Regions from separate parts of the Homo sapiens genome. Here region 1 is linked to region 2. Evidence: promoter capture Hi-C in human tissues and cell types (Jung and others, 2019). All regions are on one chromosome and are shown on one strand. The core of a region is centred on a gene start or on the middle of the fragment in contact, and the rest is flanking DNA. Distances in the headings are between cores, read along the strand shown. Region 1 overlaps EMILIN2 (elastin microfibril interfacer 2). Region 2 holds the start of MYOM1 (myomesin 1).

Region 1 (4,194 bases), core at 1,092-3,591, 340 kb before region 2:
CACCTGAGGTTGGGAGTTCGAGACCAGCCTGACCAACATGGAGAAACCCGGTCTCTAAGAAAAATACAAAAAAATTAGCCAGGCGTGGTGGCACATGCCTGTAATCCCAGCTACTAGGGAGGCTGAGGCAGGAGAATCGCTTGAGCCCAGGAGGCAGAGGTTGCAGTGAGCCAAGATCGCACCACTGCACTCCAGCCTGAGCGACAGAGAGAGACTCCGTCCTCCCTGCCCCCAACACCCCCCCCAAAAAAAGAAAGTTAAGTATATTAATTTGATTGATTTATTTTTTGAGGTATGGTCTCTGTCGCCCAGGCTGGAGTGCAATGGGTGTGATCATGGCTCACTGCAGTCTCAAATTCAAGGGCTCATATGATCCTCCTGCGTCAGCCTCCCAAGTAGCTGGGATAAGAGGTGTGCATCACCATGCGTGGCTAACTTTTAAAGATTTTTAGTAGAGATGAGGTTTTGCTATGTTGCCCAGGCTGTTCTCGAACTCCTGAGCTCAGCAATCCTCAGTCCTTGGCCTCCCAGAGTGCTAGGATTGCAGGCATGAGCCACTGTGCCCAGCCTAGTATATTAATTTTTAAAAATGGGATGTTATAGTGAACAAAACCAACAGGAATTCTATCCTCATGGGGCTTACAGTCTGGCAGGGAGGACAAACACGGAGTAAGCAAACACAAGTGTGAACTGAGGCGTGTTATGAAGGAGGTCTCAACTTGAGTCAGTAGAAGGAGTCTTTGTGGGGGTGACATCAAGTGGAGGTACTGTCATTTTGTTTTAACAGGGACACTTCCAGTCATATGGTCCCTGGACGCTGACACAACTTTTCCAGGACTTTTTTTTTTGACACCTTCCTTCTCATTAGAATCTCCTGGGCCAGTCTAGTGTCTTGACACGGTTGCTGAACCCATTAAAATGGGAAACCCTTGTTTTCACCTCCGAAAAGGGTTTTAGAGGAAGAGGCGGGCAAAGGAGACTTGGCTGGAATGGGGGAGAGTTCACAGGGGCGAGGCGGCAGGGCGACAGGCCCAGGGTTACAGCCCCAAGGGCCGCCCCCGCCCATACCCAAGGCACCTGTGGACGGGGCTCTCCAGAGGGCTGGGGCACCATCACAGTCACAGCCGAGGCTGGGAAGGGAGCCAGGGCTGCAGCCGAGTCCGCCCCTCCAGCGCTGCGCAGCCCCGCCGCCTTAACTTTTCCTCTGGCTGCGGGTCCCTCGGCTTGGCCACCCCCACACTGCAGTTAGTTGACTGATTCTGTATCGAGTGAGCATCTCCCGTGTGCTCACAGCCCGGGGCCCCTGGGGATGCTTGGGCCGCCTGTCTCTGTTTCATGTCCCCTGCCTGGTCCTCTTAGGAGGGTGGCCGATTCCCTGAAGGGAGGAAGTGGGTCCTGGGTCTGGGGCTTTTCCACTTTGGCTGCACTTGACAACGACTTGGGGACTTTTAGAAAGGTACGAGCACCCTCCACCAATTAAGGTATAATTTTGCTGAAAATTCCTTGGCATTTTCTAAAGCTCACTAGCTATTTTCCTGCAGTGCCTTGGGTGATGAAGAGGGTGACCCAGAATCCTCCTTTGTTGCTCCCCATCCTCTAGGAAAGCTTCTAGCTGGCTACTGTCTTAGTGGGAACCCCTTTCTGCTGGGAAAATCCCAGTAGGGATTTGGGATTGGACAACCCTTTCATCTCCACCTCCCCCTGAGCTCCCAACTGAGCCCGAGGGCTGACTAGCAGGGCCCAAGGCCACCTCTGAGATCCAGCTTTGTCATCGTCATGCGACATCCCTAGGGAGCTTTCTCACCGCAGGAGGTGGCTGCTGATGGATTCCAACTGTTGATGCCAGCCAGGAAGTCCTCTTCCCCATGCTAGACTTGAAAACTTGTCAGGAGCGCCTCAACCTGAACTCCCTTGGCCAGAAACTCAACAGCAGGCAGATTAGACGCGGAGCAGGAGTGGGGAACATGTGTAGAGTGGGAGGGGTGGGGGCTCCAGGCTCCAGGGAACTTTCCTACATTAGGAGCTGGGGAGCTGGCCCCAAAATAAAATTGCCTTGAAAGAAAAGAACAAAGTGTGTTGGCACAGCAAGGCCTTTCTTCCGCTCTGGGGCATGACAGAGGTCACAGCCCGCTGCTGGGCTGGAGTGGGGGCCGTTCCTCTTCAATGGGCACAGGAGTGTGCTCTGCCTGGCCTGGCTCAGCCTCCTCTGAGACAGCTTCATGCAGGCCTGGGCCGTCATCTCCTGGCCGATGAACAAAACCCGAGAGCAAACACATTTCACATTCAGTCTGAATGCTCAGAGGAACCACGTTTTTCTGAGATTACACATTCTTCCAGCATTATGCTCTACTTGAGAACGCAAAACAATCCAGCGCAATGATGCTTTCTTCCCTTTTTACATTTTCAAGGACCACACAGAGGACTCCTGCTAGGTGGTGGTGGGGACCGAGGGCTGGTGTGTACCTGGCCACGGGTGGGATGCTCAGGAATGGGTTGGCCGAAGTGGGGGTTGCCTACCTTCTTACCCAGCCCTTAGGGCCTTCTGGAACATCTCCAGGTGGGGCCGCTTCCTCCAATGTAAGGCATCGCCTGAGAGAACGGCTGTGTGGGGTGCAGGGAGGAGGCTTGGGTTTAACGGCCCTGCCCCTTCCGGGCTGTTTGAACTTGGATAAGTCGCTTAACCCCATGAGCCTCTGTTTTCTCACTTGTGAAAAGGGGAAAATGTATAGTAGGGCCTTGGTGGAGGTGGACAGCAATGAGAGAAGGAAGAGCCTGGAAGGTCTTTCCTCTCCTCATCCTCCCAACTGCCCGAGCAGCCCTTGTTTTTCCATTTTACTACCAGGCTTCCTCTTCAGTTTTCCTTGGAAAAGGCTCTCTGGAGCTTTCTAACATCTGCATGCCTGGCTGCCACCCCAGACCCCTTAAATCAAAACCTCTGAGGGTGAGACCCAGGCGTGGGTATTTTTTCACAGTTTCCTGGGTGATTCTGATGGCTCAGGCTAAGAACCACTGCCCTAAAGATCAAGGCAAACAGGCCGGGTGTGGTGGCTCATGCCTGTAATCCCAGCACTTTGAGGTTGGGGGATCACTTGAGGCCATGGGCTCGAGACCAGCCTGGGCAACATAGTGAGACCCTATCTCTTAAAAAAATTTTTTTAAATTGGCTGGGCACAGTGGCTCACACCTGTAATCCCAGCACTTTGGGGGCTAAAGGGTGGGTAGATCACCTGAGGTCAGGAGTTCAAGACCAGCCCAGCCAACATGGTGAAACTATGTCTCTACTAAAAATACAAAAAATAACCAGGCATGGTGGTGGGTGCCTGTAATCCCAGCTACTTGGGAGGCTGAGGCAGGCGAATCGCTTGAACCCGGGAGGCAGAGGTTGCAGTGAGCCGAGATCGCGCCATTGTACTCCAGCCTGGGCAACGAGAGTGAAACATCATCTCAAAAAAAAAAAAATATGACCCAGGCATGGTGCCTGTAATCTCAGCATTTTGGGAGGCCGAGGTGGAGGATCACTTGAGCCCAGGAGTTTGAGGTTGCAGTGTACCATGATTGTACCACTGCACTCCAGCCTGGGCGACCAAGTGATACTTATCTCTACAAAACAAAAAACACAACAAAAACCAAAGGAAACAGGGACAGTGGAAGGTGCTAGGAGGTCTAATGGGCTTGGCGGGTCCTAGCTGTCGGCAGGGCCCTCTTGGGATTCTGCAGGGTGCCTAGCCAGTCCCAGCGGGGTGGATCCTATACCCAGAGTGTAATTGTCAGTGTGTGACCCTCGGGGAGGATGTCAAAGGTCCAGCACATGATTTGTGCTTTCCTCAGGGAGGTAACTTTGAAGTCCACCTGCCACAGGGCTGGTGCTTGGGAGGGAGTTGCTTTGCTGGGTAACCCCGCTGCTGCTATTGTCCCGCCTCCCCCCATGGGCAGCTCTCAGCAACCCTGAAAAAGTGACACTCAGCCTATTGCTTTCTGGGAATTGGCTCAAGAAGAAGGCCAGCTGCTGGTGCTGGTGTAAGAAATGAAGAGGAGCTGAAGAGCTTCAAGAGAGATGATTTGCAAGGCAGGAAATCACAATTGGGCTGAAGTAGGGAGGCCCCATCCTGTGTGGCTGTGGCTTTTGCCTGTGCTGTGAGCAGGGGCCGCTGCGGGGGCTGAACTCCTGGCTCCTTCCCTGGTGAGCCCGGGACT
Region 2 (4,457 bases), core at 943-3,442:
AGTTTGAGACCAGCCTGGGCAACGTGGTGAGACCTTGTCTCTATTATAAAAATTTAAGATAAAATAAAATAAGTAAAATAAAGTCCTAGAACTGAACCCTGGAGTATGCTAATCTTATATATAAGCTCTCTCAAATCTCACAAACATTTCAAGCAAAGGTATAGTCTCAAACCAGAAAACAAAACAAAACAAACAAAAAAACCTGTTTGCTCTATAAGGAACATGCAGGCTTCTAGTCTCCCTACTTAAAGAGGTAAGAGAGTCGATTCCCAGGGTGACAGCTGGCATTGTGAACTTGAGCTAGCAGTTCTACTAAAAGTCAAAGGTATGTTTGTTTAGCATAGGGTGGGGAGATGTCACATGGCCTTAGCATTCTTGAATAGTTTATCCACTGAAGCAGGCCTATCAGCCACGTTGACAACCCTGGATGAAGTAATAGTTTTATAAAAGCTCCACCCCCAAGTGTTTTAATGCTGTAGAATTAGTTTTAAAGTGATCTGTTTTCTCCAAATGTCATTTTTAAAAAAATTCAAAATGAAGAATGAATCCTTCTAAACTCAGCATATTCTTTGTCAAGTTTAAAACTACTTTTTATTTAAACTATTTTAAAAGTCAGCATGTATTCCCCAGAGAAGAAAACTGAGCAAACTTCACTCCAGAAATATTTATCTTAGGGTTCATGGAAGATATCAGTCTACAGGGCATTTCCTAAGGGAAAAAAATAGCTACTAGCAAGCAACTTTGCTTCAACCCTTAAATAGATGGCTATTTTCTGTTACAAAATATGGAGGATAATTACCATGTATAATTAATAACTACTAGATGAATTTTGATAAAACAAAGGGGTTAGAAAATGTTAATACAGAATTACGTTAGGCAGTTATAAAGATATTAGAGAAGTTTCTGTTATGATACTACATTGTAACATGGCACATGTTATTTGAATGATTTTTCAAATAAATAATAAAGAAACTTGTTATGTTATAAACTAAATTCATTCCCCAGATGACTTGAAATGCTGTTATTTTCACAAAATAAAATCTTTAAATATCTTGCCCCAATACTATTTTTTACTCTCTTTATTTCTATTTCTCCCAAATACATTTATTTTTAATAATACTTACTATTCCTCTCACATAGATAGTAAGTTACAAGTAAACAGGGTTTGACTTGAAGCCCACATTGCTGATTGTCACAGCCCTGACCTCTGGAACAAAGGTACAACCACCTCCTCTTCATCAAGTAAGCCCTTGAAGTTAACTAAAGCCAGGATTAGCTCCAACACATGACGGCTGGAGTACGTTGGGAGGAAAGATGGTTTTAGTGTCTTTTGTTTCTTTAAGACCTAAATTTTCTTTCTGAAAATAATTTGAGAATTTAGGAAGAAATACAAATTCCATAGCTGTAATTTATGATACTTTTGTGCAGGCATTAGAGGGCAGAAGCTGATGAAAACGATTCCCAGAAAAATCACTATGTGGGGCTCTATGTTGCCTCTGAAATATTACTTAACCATTTGAGGCCATATCATTGTGCGCGCTCACATTTATCCACATTGCATCGTCACAGCAAGATCCCTGAATTATAAACTAGTGACTTCAGAGTTAATTTTCCTTCTTTCGGTCTAATTTGTAACCAGGGAGCATTGTATGGCACATGCAGGATTGAAAATGCAGGGCCTCCTGTCTCTCATCCATTTCAGATTTCAACCAAACCGTACTTGGAAATAGCATTAAACACACGCTTACAGTTCAATCCGAGGCAGATATGACCTCCTTACAGTTCCAGGAACAGCAGCTTAATTTCAGAAGAATACAGTGATGTGAGAGAAGAGCTGTGCCAGCCCGACTGGCACCCGGCTGTTCTGGTTTCCCTCCCTGGAGCTTCACTTTCCTATTTCTCTGTTATTCTGACATCTCTTTGAGAAAACTGCTGAGTTCAGAAGACAGAAAGAAAGCACTTACACTGCACTGCTGCTAAGCTCATAAGCTATCAAGTGCATTCTTCTGCCTCAGTGTCACACTTACCAGTTTCCAAAGGAGTAATGGTGGTGGAAATGTTCCGATGAGGCCGAGGAGCTGGATGAGAGAATGAAGACTCCACCTAGGTTGAATCCAAGACAATGTTAAGAGGCAGGGCTAAAGACAGGACCCTGGGGGCCAGTTCAAAAATAATGCATGTGGTCAGGCAGTCGAATGTCAGGCCACACAACCAGCCTTTTATGGCCAAGAAGGCAGATAAATATAGCAGCAGATGGGGAGGGTAGTTCCAAACCAGGAGGAGGAGAGGGGCATGGGCAGGTAGCAGCCTTAGTAATATAATTGCATAATGCCGGTCAATGGGTCTGGCCCGATTAAACCAAATATAGGGTTTTTATTTGGCAACAAGAGTTATTTTCAATGTCACTTTATCAGTAGATAATTTAAAAGTGTAATGGAAAGAGTGGTTTGTGTTAACAGCTAAAAATAGGTGTAGTAATATGATTCTCAAAATGGACTTCGTGGAATTTTAATGCCAAGATATGATTCTGAGTGTGCTGTTAACAACACACGTACGGTACATTTAAAAGATACAATGTGAAAAAAGAACTTGAAGCTAACTAAAGGCAAAACAAGGAAGAAATGGGTTACACGTGGTGGCGATTTTTGCCTGACATCACGGTCACTATTTCTCTCACTTCAGGAAAATTTACAAGGTTAAGTCTTAGCTTCAAGCCTGAATATGTGATTTCCTGTTCATTAACTAAAGCCTTTTGAGACGCAACTCAGTGTTTTATCTTTCCTAACTCAGAGTAGGGTCAGTCCATCTAATAAGAGATTCTCTTTCTTTGTTCTTTAAATGGTGTGACCAATTAAGAGGAGGTGTAACCCGGTTGTGAGAGCCTGTGTTGTGGATTCAGACCAGATCTAGATCCCACTATATTGATAGCACTTAGTAGCCATGTAATCTCCAGCAATTTATTTCTCCTTCCTAAGCTTCAGGTTTTTTGTCTATAAAATGGGGATAATCATATCCAAATTATAGGATTGCTGTGGTGATTAAATGTGATACTGCAGACAGAGCACTTGACCTAGTGACAGTCACATAATATAGACTCAGTAAATATCAGCTGTTATTACTGATACCAATAATATAAAAGCTCATTGTTAGATTACATGTATGCAGCAGGTTGGTATTTTGATCTACTGGCCTTATGTTCTGACAGTGATATTACATCAACTGAATAAAGGTCACCTGTGTCTATCAAAATTGTTTTTCTTTCTGAGACAGGGTCTCACTCTGTTGCCCAGGCTGGAGTGCAGTGGTGCAGTCTTGGCTCACTGCAACCTCTGCCTCCCAGGCTCAAGCAATCCTCCCACCTCAGCCTCCCGAGTAGCTACAGGCGCATGCCATCACACTCGGCTAATTTTTTTTTTTAACTCTTGGTAGAAATGGAGTTTCACCATGTTGCCCAGGCTGGTCTCAAACTCCTGGACTCGAGTAATCCACCTGCCTCAGTCTCACAAAGTGCTGGAATTACAGGCGTGAGCCACTGCACCCAGTCTCTATCAAGATATTGAACAGACTCAATATTATAGTATACTTCATCATGACTTTCTTGATGATAACTACAGTTAACACTGTTGAGGACCTATCCAGTGCCAGACACTGGGATAGGCAGTTTATATACATGATCCCACTGACTTATCATACCTTGCAAGGTACAGCTTCATTACCCCGTTGAGGAAAGCAAAGCTTCCAGAAGGGAAGGCATTTGCCAAAGATCACACAGCGGGTAGATGACAGAAACGCAACTTCATTCAGAGACATTTGATTCCAAAGCCCGTGTACTTGTAGTCATGTATTGCTGGCTCCTCCAGTGGCACTTTGATAGTAAGAAACTAGACATTTTGAAATGGCAATACGGGTCTTCACTTGTAATAGACGGTTAGCTTCTGAGCTACTCAAAGTATGTAAAAGAATCTGTTCCACCTAGTTCTGATCCAGGTACCTGTGAAATTCAACCTGGAATTTCTTCATATACATACCTCTGCTATTAGTAAGCATGTGGACATTTTAGCTATCTGGAAGCCATAGGCGAGTTTTCCAAGTGTTATGTTCCCCAAGCATCCATTTGTTCTCTAAATATCCAATACAGAATGCAGTGATTCTTCTCAAGTCTTATCCACCAGCCATTAGGATGATTCCTGGTGAGCTGTTTCTCTAGAGAACATTGGTCAATTGCCCCAAATCTTCTCAAAGCAGAAAAGAGGAAAAATAAACTTATATGCTTTTTAAAAAGTGTTTTACATTAGATGATTTTCTGGGAAATTTGAAATTAACAGCTGGCTAACCACTCCATTAAGTTTTCAGGATAATCACATATCTGTAAGGGTATCATGAGTAAGTGTAATTGACCAGAGTCCACATATATAAAGGAATCATAACTAAGTTACAATAATTGATTCATATGAGCC

Evidence for each region. The method cuts DNA at HindIII sites, captures the fragments that hold promoters and counts their contacts. A contact is called where the count stands out against the background at its distance.
Region 1: a contact is called between a fragment that was not itself captured here and the fragment with the promoter of MYOM1 in region 2, in 2 of the 25 tissues and cell types used here (aorta and mesendoderm cells).

Annotation. Positions count from the first base shown.
Region 1 is chr18:2,879,438-2,883,631 of GRCh38, forward strand. The region is part of intron 2 of EMILIN2 (elastin microfibril interfacer 2); the gene reads left to right. Among named protein-coding and RNA genes, the nearest start is that of EMILIN2, 35 kb to the left of the region's middle. The HindIII fragment of the contact is 5,105 bases long and covers 1-4,194 here.
Region 2 is chr18:3,217,776-3,222,232 of GRCh38, forward strand. MYOM1 (myomesin 1) reads right to left here and starts at 2,193. Exons shown (of 38, transcript NM_003803.4): 1 at 2,028-2,193. RefSeq lists a silencer at 196-490. The HindIII fragment of the contact is 14,410 bases long and covers 1-3,355 here.